Linked DNA regions of Homo sapiens: regions 1 and 3 are each linked to region 2. Evidence: promoter capture Hi-C in 16 types of primary human blood cells and fetal thymus (Javierre and others, 2016). All regions are on one chromosome and are shown on one strand. Each heading gives the region's core, a stretch centred on a gene start or on the middle of the fragment in contact. The rest is flanking DNA. Distances are from core to core; before and after follow the strand shown. Region 1 overlaps FARSB (phenylalanyl-tRNA synthetase subunit beta). Region 2 holds the start of ACSL3 (acyl-CoA synthetase long chain family member 3). Region 3 overlaps MOGAT1 (monoacylglycerol O-acyltransferase 1).

Region 1 (2,814 bases), core at 14-2,513, 230 kb before region 2:
CACTTTTCTTACCTGTTAAGGAGATAATGAAAATTCCTATCTTGTCTGGTACTTACAAAGATTAAATAATTGGCATGTAGTAAACACCATATAGATTTGTTAAATAATTTTTCTATTTCAAAAAAAATTCTTAGAAAAAAAATACCGTGACCTTATTGGAATATATGCTTTACTCTTATATAAATATTTCACTCCTATATATACAGGCTTCAGGAAAGACATTCAAGGTCTGTAAATGCACGAATTAAATTTTTTAAAAAATTAATATTAAAAGCTGTACTACCCTGACAATATTTCTGAAGGCAAGGAGTACCTAAAAGTTATAAAGGAAATACCTTACAATGGTCTCTAATCCTATAAGATGTACATGAATACCATTTATTTGCCCTATTTCTATACTCCAGCCTTCTCCTGCCATTTGAGGTTACCTTTTTTAAATTGTTTAACTGCCACCTCATTTAACATATGTAAAGAAGTCATATGTCATAGAAAAAGCTTTCATAGCAATCCATTCCAATAGATGAACTGACTCAAAGTGGGTGAAGAATTATATTCTAGATAATTTTGTGTGCATAAACCAACCATCTATCAATTTACTAAATAAAGCTTCTTCATCGCCAGTTCCTTTTTTTTTTTTAAGATTTTAACAAGTACACAAAGGTACCAAATTACTCCGCATATAAATTAAGTCAACTAGATAAACAATTTATATGGATTTCGCTATAGTACTCATTCCATTTTGTGTTTTATAGTTACGTATATGACTAACTCTCCCCCTAGGAGTTCTTTGAAGTGAAGAGACATGTAACTCATTATTAAATTCTTGGCACTGGAAAGACATTTGGTGCTCACTAAACATTTGTCGAATTAATGAAAGCACCATAACCAAAGTGTAGAATATCTCTATCTTTTTAATTGTCTAAATTTCTAAAATATGTTCCCACCTACAAAATGCACATATTTTAAATTTTAGCCACTTAGTCTTGGTCCGGAAATAAAATCTATCCCAGCTGATCATACAAAAATTGAGTAAAAGTTTTACTTACCTTAGTAAAGTCAGTTCCCGTGCATTCAATAAAAATATTTCTAGTATTTACTGTTATTCTGGAATGATCCCCTGCAATGAACACAAAACAATAACATTAAAATAACTAATTTCAGAAATAGAAGTGCACTATTAAGCTCAACAAAACAGAAACTACATTTTAAATGTAAAACATATTAAAAACTAACACCTTGGCCAGGGATGGTGGCTCACACCCACCAGCACTCTGGGAGGCCAAAGTGGGCGGATCACCTGAGGTCAGGAGTTCAAGACCAGCCTAACTAACACAGAGAAACCCCTTCTCTACTAAAAATACAAAATTAGCCAGGCGTGGTGGCGCATGCCTGTAATCCCACTTACTTGGGAGGCTCAGGCAGGAGAATTGCTTGAACCCGGGAGGTGCAGGTTGTGGTGAGCCGAGATGGTGCAATGGCACGACATGGTGCAATGGCACGACATGGTGCAATGGCACGAGAGTGTGCCATTGCACTCCAGCCTGGGCAACAAAAGCAAATCTCTGTCTCAAAAAAATAAAAATAATAAAAAAAAAACCTAACATCTTAAGAGCAAAGGGATAAACAACTTATATTTAAAGCTCCTACTGCAAGTTGAAGAATAAAAATAAAATAATTAACAGGCCTTTACTGAATGCATACAATGTGTCAGGTGCTATGCCAAGCACTTAACATAGGTTGTCTCCTCTAATCTTTACCACAATCCTATGATGTAATTGCTGGCAAGAAACTAAATTCAGAGAGATTAAACTATTTGACCATGATCATGAGCAGCAAGGCTAGGATTTGGGTCTAGAACTGGTTAACTCTGGGGCCCATGTTCTTAACCACTGTAACTACTAGGGTCCAAGATCTTGAGAAGAAGCTTCTCCTTCTCATAGCAAATCAGCTAAGCCTCCTTCTTACCTCCAGAAACGCAAACATCTATGTCTCAGACATCATTAAGTTTTGTAAATACATTCAAACTGCCTCATAAAAATAGCCTTCAGAAAGGAATTAAGAGGGCAAAATTTAAATTAAAAGTTTTTGTTTAACTATATAACTAGGCAAGGCCAGGCACGGCAGCTCACATCTATAATCCCAGGGCTTTGGGAGGCCAAGGTGGGAGAATCGCTTGAGCCCAGGAGTTTAAGGTTGCAGTAAGCCATGACTGCACCACTGCACTCCAGCCTGGGCGACAGAGCAAGAGCCTGTCTCAAAAACAAAACAAAAAACAACAACAACAAAAAAAAAAAACAAAAGAAAAAAAACTACAGACATGACAGAGTTTGACTTTGAGTTTAACCAAGTGAATTACTTGCTAAAACCAAAACATCAATAACCTTTGAAGAAACATAATAGAACCCAAAACCTAGCATCAGAAAATATTTATAAATGTATGAGCATAAGTTACATAAGAATCACCAATAAAATGTTGTTGAATAAATGAATGAAAAGAATGATTAGAATCTACAAAAGACCTGAGATACTCAGATTATGAGTTATTTGAATTTGATTCAGCCAAGTCTATTGAGAATTCTACAGAAATGCTGAAGATTAAAAGGAAACAGCAAAGATCTGTGATGCTTATAAAATAACTCACCATTGATGATGGGAGGCATTGAAAGGACGACACCATTGCTATCATAGATAACTGGATACAGGGGTTTGTTTTCAATGATATGTAAATAATGTTTCAGGTGATTGTCAGTCTGAAAACAAATTAAGTCAAATAAAATTAGTTTTTTTTTTTAATTTCTATCACTATAGTTCACA
Region 2 (2,719 bases), core at 220-2,719:
GAATTTTAATTCCCAGGACCATTTTCTTTTAAATATAGGTCCATATCCATAATATATATTCCATAATATAAAGATAATGAAGAAAGATATTGTTGGAATTCTTCTAGTCTGTTTTAGGCTTATGGATAGATAAAAAGGTGCAATATTAGTTTTCTTCTCTCGGAAAAAAACCAGTATTTTCCAGAGGATTTCATGGTTCTAGAAGTACTACTTCTAAAGCCTGCTTCTCTCTGCAGAGCTGCGAATGTCTTTTCAGATAAGAAATTCTGCATTCCATTTATCTTCAGGATGTATCCTTTGATAAGATTTCAACAGATTAATGAGCAACTGAACTGCCATATTTTGAAGTGGGAGAACAGTTTGCCTGAGTCAGGTATCCATCCCTTTAGGTTCTCGATTGGCCCTTGGCCCACGGTGAGTGAGCTCTCTTTGCTTGGTGCATCATCGCTCCACCTAGTTCAAGTTCTGGCGGCTTCCTGATTTTGATTCTCTTGGGAAATGAGGCCTGCTTTAGCCTGAGGCTGGCTCAGGAAGGCAACCTTTCACCTACTTAAGGAAAAGTTCACAGGCAAACTAAACAATATGTTGGGTTAAAAAAAGAGACCAATCCTACTAGTACTGGGTGAGTGAAAATCTTCTCTCTTACAGTACATGTAGTTCTACTACCTGCACTGGATGCTTTCTTTCTTATCCTTGTTTAGTGTCTAAAACGAGAAACAATGGCAAACTCCTTAAAATACAGAACCACTGTGGATTCCTAAGAACGTTCAAAAACAATAATTTGGAGTAAACTTTATTTTTTGAAAAGAAATAGCAAATTTGCATGGTGAGTGCATTTAGAGGAAAACGGGTTATATGCTAGGTCAAGTGAGGCCAAAACAAGAGAAATGATAATGGATAAGCTTTGAGTTTTTGAGGCTCTTCTTGCCCCAGGCAGTTCCAAAAGCCATTTTATTTGGCAGGATTTGACAGCAATTTCTGCAAGAACGGGATAACTAATCCAGTTAAAAACGAAAAAGAATATGCATACTATTTCATAATTTATATTGAAATTTATACATTACAGCAATAATTGTGCGACTGTAATTTTTTTTTTTTTTTTTTTGGTGGAGGGGTGTTTTTTCCTGGAGGGACGGAGCTCCTGCAGACCCTATTGGGCTAGCCGCTCCTCCCACGTCGCTGCCGCAGATCCCCGCTCCCCTCCCCCACCCGCGGTCCGTCCCTCCTGGTCGACCCCGTTCCCGCCCCCGCCCCGCGCAGACTGCAGCCAGGTCCGGTCCGCGGCGGCTCCGCGGAATGACCCGTAGTAACCTCGCCCCGCCCCGGGCCGCCAGCGCCGCGCTCCCCGGCCCGAATTCGATAGGCCCAGCCCCGCACGCGCCACCGCTCGCGGGCCAATGGGTGGCAGCCTCTCTGCATAGGCAACGAGTGCCGGCCGGGGGTGAGCGTCCCAGGCGGTTCCGCTCAACAGACGCTGCTGTGGCTGCGCCGGGCTGCGACACTGCAGTTGTCTACGCGGCCGGGGCCGGGACGAGGAGGCGTTGGACGGGGTCGCATACGTTCGTCCCCTCGCATTGCGGCCCCGACAGCTGCGCCAGGATCCCCGGGCGGCGGCGCGGGGCGTGAACGCTCTGGGGCTCAGCCAGGCCTGCGCGGGCCCGAGGCCGGAGGAACCCGGACTCCGGCGTAGCGGTGAGTGCGGCGCCGGTTGTGGGAGCGGCGGGAGCCGGTTGGCGGCGCGGCCTCCGCGTGCGGTTCGGCTGGGCCCGAGGGGCTCCCCAGCCTCGGGGCCTGGGACCCTGTCGTCGGCGCCGCACCTGACCGCTGGGTGTGCGCGCGGGCGGCCCGCGGCACCAGGAGCAGCGGCGAGCAGGGTGGGAGGCGGCCCGCTGGGGTCCGGGAAGCGGCTGACGTGGGGCCTCGGCCCTGAGCCCACGCGAGCCGGGAGCTGCAGCGCGAACGGCGTGGGGCGGCGCTGACCAGGCAGGGAGGATGCACTGCGTGCCTCCCGGCGCTGTGGGGCGGGGTGGGGAGGCCACCCCCTTGAATTAAGAGGGCTCTGCCGCGGCCCCAGCAGTGCGGTGTCCGTGGAAGGAGACTCAGCCCTGCGATTTCGGAAAACCCTTGTTTGGCGGGGCGGGAGGGGCTGTTGCTGCGTGGGGTGAGAAGAAACTAGGTGCGTGAGGTGGGTCGACCTTGGTGATTGGTTCTGGGCACTATCGTGGTGGTGGGACTGGGATTAAGACTGTCGTTTGGGGTTTGAGAGTTGCAGCTTTGCTTTTCCCCAAGTGCGTTTTAATCATATACTGTTGATAGGTTGGGTAACTCGGGGACTGCTTACTACCAGCAGTCCTGTGGGGTAGGTGTTATCAGGCTCGTTTCACAGATGAGGAGCCCGAGGCACAGGTTTTCAAATGGTTTTCGCAGGAAGTCTGATACTAGAAAGTGTGCTCTAAGCTGCTGTATAAAAGATCCCTCGAAAATGAAAAGGCTGGAGGAATGTCTTTAAAATTATATGGAAGCTAGAAAGGCAGTAGGCTTTGTGAACGAAATTATAGCTGAAAAGAATGACAAATAGCTGACATTTATTGAGCTTTTATTACATGCCACGCACTGTTTGGAGAGCTTTATGTACAGTGTCTTCACACTGTTAACAGTCCTCTGGGGTGGGGGTTATTCCCATTTTACAGCGGGAGAAACTGCAGATTGGACGACTTAG
Region 3 (2,700 bases), core at 88-2,587, 180 kb before region 2:
GGACACCCTGCCTCTACTAAAAATATAAAAATTAGCTAGGCATGGTGGCGGGTGCCTGTAGTCTCAGCTACTTGGGAGGCTGAGGCAGGAGAATTGCTTGAACCCGGGAGGTGGAGGTTGCAGTGAGCTGAGATCGTGCCATTGCACTCCAGCACCTGGGTGACAAGATCAAAAAACTCCGTCTCAAAAAAAAAAGTTCTTTGCTTAATCCAAGGTCACAAAAATTTTCTTCTATATTTTCTCCTACCAGTGTTAATAGTTTTAGGTTTTCCATATAGATCTATGATCTATTTAGGGTTAATTTTTGTGTGTGGTACAGTGTCTAAATCCATTTTTCTGCATATATATAATCCAATGGTTCCAGCTCTTTTTTGGTAGATCACTATCTGCTCTCTACTGCATTGCCCTTGTGCCTTTATCAAATATCAATTGCCCATATATGCATGGGTTTATTTCTAGACTCTCTAGTCTGTGCCATTGATCTGTTCATCTATCTTGATGCCAGTACCCTGTTGTTTTGATTATTATAGCTTTATAATAATTCTTGAAATCAGATACTGTTAGTCTTCAAACTTTGTTGGTGGTATTGTTTTTCACAGGTGTTTTGATTATTCCACGTCCTTATCAGTTCCATATGCATTTTAGGATCAGGTTAACAATTTCCACACCAAAAAACCCTCCTGGGATTTTGATTGGGATTGCTGTTTGATTGGAATTAGCTTATAGTTTAATTTGTAGAAAACTAACTGAACTGATTACAGTACATATGTCCTAAAACCAAGAACATTTCTCTTCCACAGCCACAGTACAATTACCCAAATCAGAAAAATAACAATACAATACTATGACCTATAGACATTATTCATATTTCAGAAGTTCCCTTACTAATGTCCTGTATAGCAAAGGAATCCACATGTTGTATTTAGTTGTGTTAAACAGAAATTATGAGCAGTCATTGTTTTGGACTGAGCTCCTGCACTAGGCTCCAGCAGACCTGAGCAAACCAAAGTGGAGTCACTCATCCTATGTGCCACATGATCAAACTTGAAACTTCAAGGAAGCAGGTAGATCTCCAAACAGACCAGTTTTCCTGAAAACAGGAGATTCAGTCTGCCTGAGTCCGTGTAATAAGGAAGTCTGCTTTGCTTTAACTTTATGAAAAAGCAACCTGAAGTGACATGACAATAGCCAATCCACTTTTTCTTCCCTCTTGTTCTGTTTTCTTTGTTTCTACCTTACCCACTGTTCCACCATTTCTCGGTAAAAGCTCTCCTTCTATTTTGCAGAATGGAGGCTGCCCTGATTAATGAATAGTGAATAAAAGTCAATTAGCTCCATAACTAAATTTGCTGTAATTTTGTCTTTTCACATTATTTTGTCTTTTTAGTTCCTTCAATCTGGAAAATTTGGAGAAAGTACATTTTAACATTACGCAAGGGATTCTTGGGCTTTCATAAACACTAGTGTGTCTCTTTTATTATGGATTATCTCCATGGATTTCAGGTTGAACTATACAAAGTATTTGTGTTTATAGAAACCTTCCTGAAAGATTTAGAACATGGGGCTGGTTTCAGCCAGATCTTTGTTATAATTTATTTGCCTTCATCAGGCAAGGAAGTAGGTTCAATATTGGCTGTGCTATAAAACAAGAGAAAGGTATTTCCCTGTATGTAACACTTTTTAAAAGCAGTGTAGAATAAACACACATATGAAGAAAACTAGGCTGCAAAATTCTGCAAAGGGGTCTGATGAGATTTGTCTTTTAGCACAATCCTTAAAAACTCTGGGAGGCAAGTTCTCTTAAAATAGAAATTTTTAAAATCAGAAGAATTTACACTTACATTCTTATATTCTACAGATGGCACGGATAGGTATTTAAAAAATATAGTGTCTCCGGGAATAAGAAGGAAAAGAGGTGCTAATGGATTTTTGCTTGCCTCTGAATTTTACTTACTTTCTCCATACTACGTTAAATGGTTAAAATAAGTATGGAAACAGTTTTCATGCAGAAAAAAATGAAAATTTTTTGGATGAGAATAGGAAGAAACAATACATATACAAGTTAAAGTCTTAAATTATTTCTTAATTATGGTCATTATTTAATGCAAGTAAATAAACATTCAGTGGCTTTCACAATGTTTTGGCTGATGCAGGTTGCTCATGGAGATTTTATAGAACAATTTCACTTATTGTAAATAGCTAGGTGAGTGGAATGGAGTCAGAAAGGGTAGCGACAAGAGAGGGAAAATCATTAATGTATGGGAATTGTCTGTGTAAGCACTTAAGCGCTTTCAAGAAGCCACAGACCTGGCCACCACTCCTTGTCGAAAGTCTTCAATTCATGGAAACTGAAAATTTATGTCCCTGGTTTTGCTGGACCAACCCTTCTCCAACTCTCCAGACACCAACTAGGTATTCTATAGTTCAGTTCTGATGCTGTCTACCTGGAGCTAGGTCTCACAGGTGAAGAGCTCAGTCTACAAGACTGCCCCAACTTTAGATGCCAACCACAAGTCCAGGTTGGCACTTGTGCTTCTTTCTGACGGCTACAAATTGAGGATTCACACGACCTCCTCCTTGGACTCTGTCATTTGCTATGATGGCTCATAGCACTCAGGAAAACACTTATGTTTGGCAGTTTATTATAATGGATATGATAAATGATATAGATGATTAGGTACCCAGGTAGGGGTCTGAAAT

What was found. Contacts are between HindIII fragments. The CHiCAGO score rates a contact against its expected background, and 5 or more counts as called.
Region 1: a fragment that was not itself captured here is called in contact with the fragment with the promoter of ACSL3 in region 2 in 6 of 17 cell types (total CD8 T cells, M1 macrophages, naive B cells and 3 more); the score reaches 6.2 in total CD8 T cells.
Region 3: a contact is called between a fragment that was not itself captured here and the fragment with the promoter of ACSL3 in region 2, in 10 of 17 cell types (fetal thymus, neutrophils, M1 macrophages and 7 more). The highest score is 10.6, in fetal thymus.

What each region holds. Positions count from the first base shown.
Region 1 is chr2:222,630,558-222,633,371 of GRCh38, forward strand. It overlaps FARSB (phenylalanyl-tRNA synthetase subunit beta), which reads right to left. Exons shown (of 17, transcript NM_005687.5): 7 at 2,642-2,750; 8 at 1,047-1,117. Among named protein-coding and RNA genes, the nearest start is that of FARSB, 24 kb to the right of the region's middle. The HindIII fragment of the contact is 1,318 bases long and covers 605-1,922 here.
Region 2 is chr2:222,859,567-222,862,285 of GRCh38, forward strand. It overlaps ACSL3 (acyl-CoA synthetase long chain family member 3), which reads left to right and starts at 1,470. Exons shown (of 17, transcript NM_004457.5): 1 at 1,470-1,692. RefSeq lists an enhancer at 1,185-1,479 and silencers at 1,196-1,525, 1,596-1,965. The HindIII fragment of the contact is 2,380 bases long and covers 901-2,719 here.
Region 3 is chr2:222,678,761-222,681,460 of GRCh38, forward strand. All of the region lies in intron 1 of MOGAT1 (monoacylglycerol O-acyltransferase 1), which reads left to right. Among named protein-coding and RNA genes, the nearest start is that of MOGAT1, 8.5 kb to the left of the region's middle. The HindIII fragment of the contact is 4,623 bases long and covers 1-2,700 here.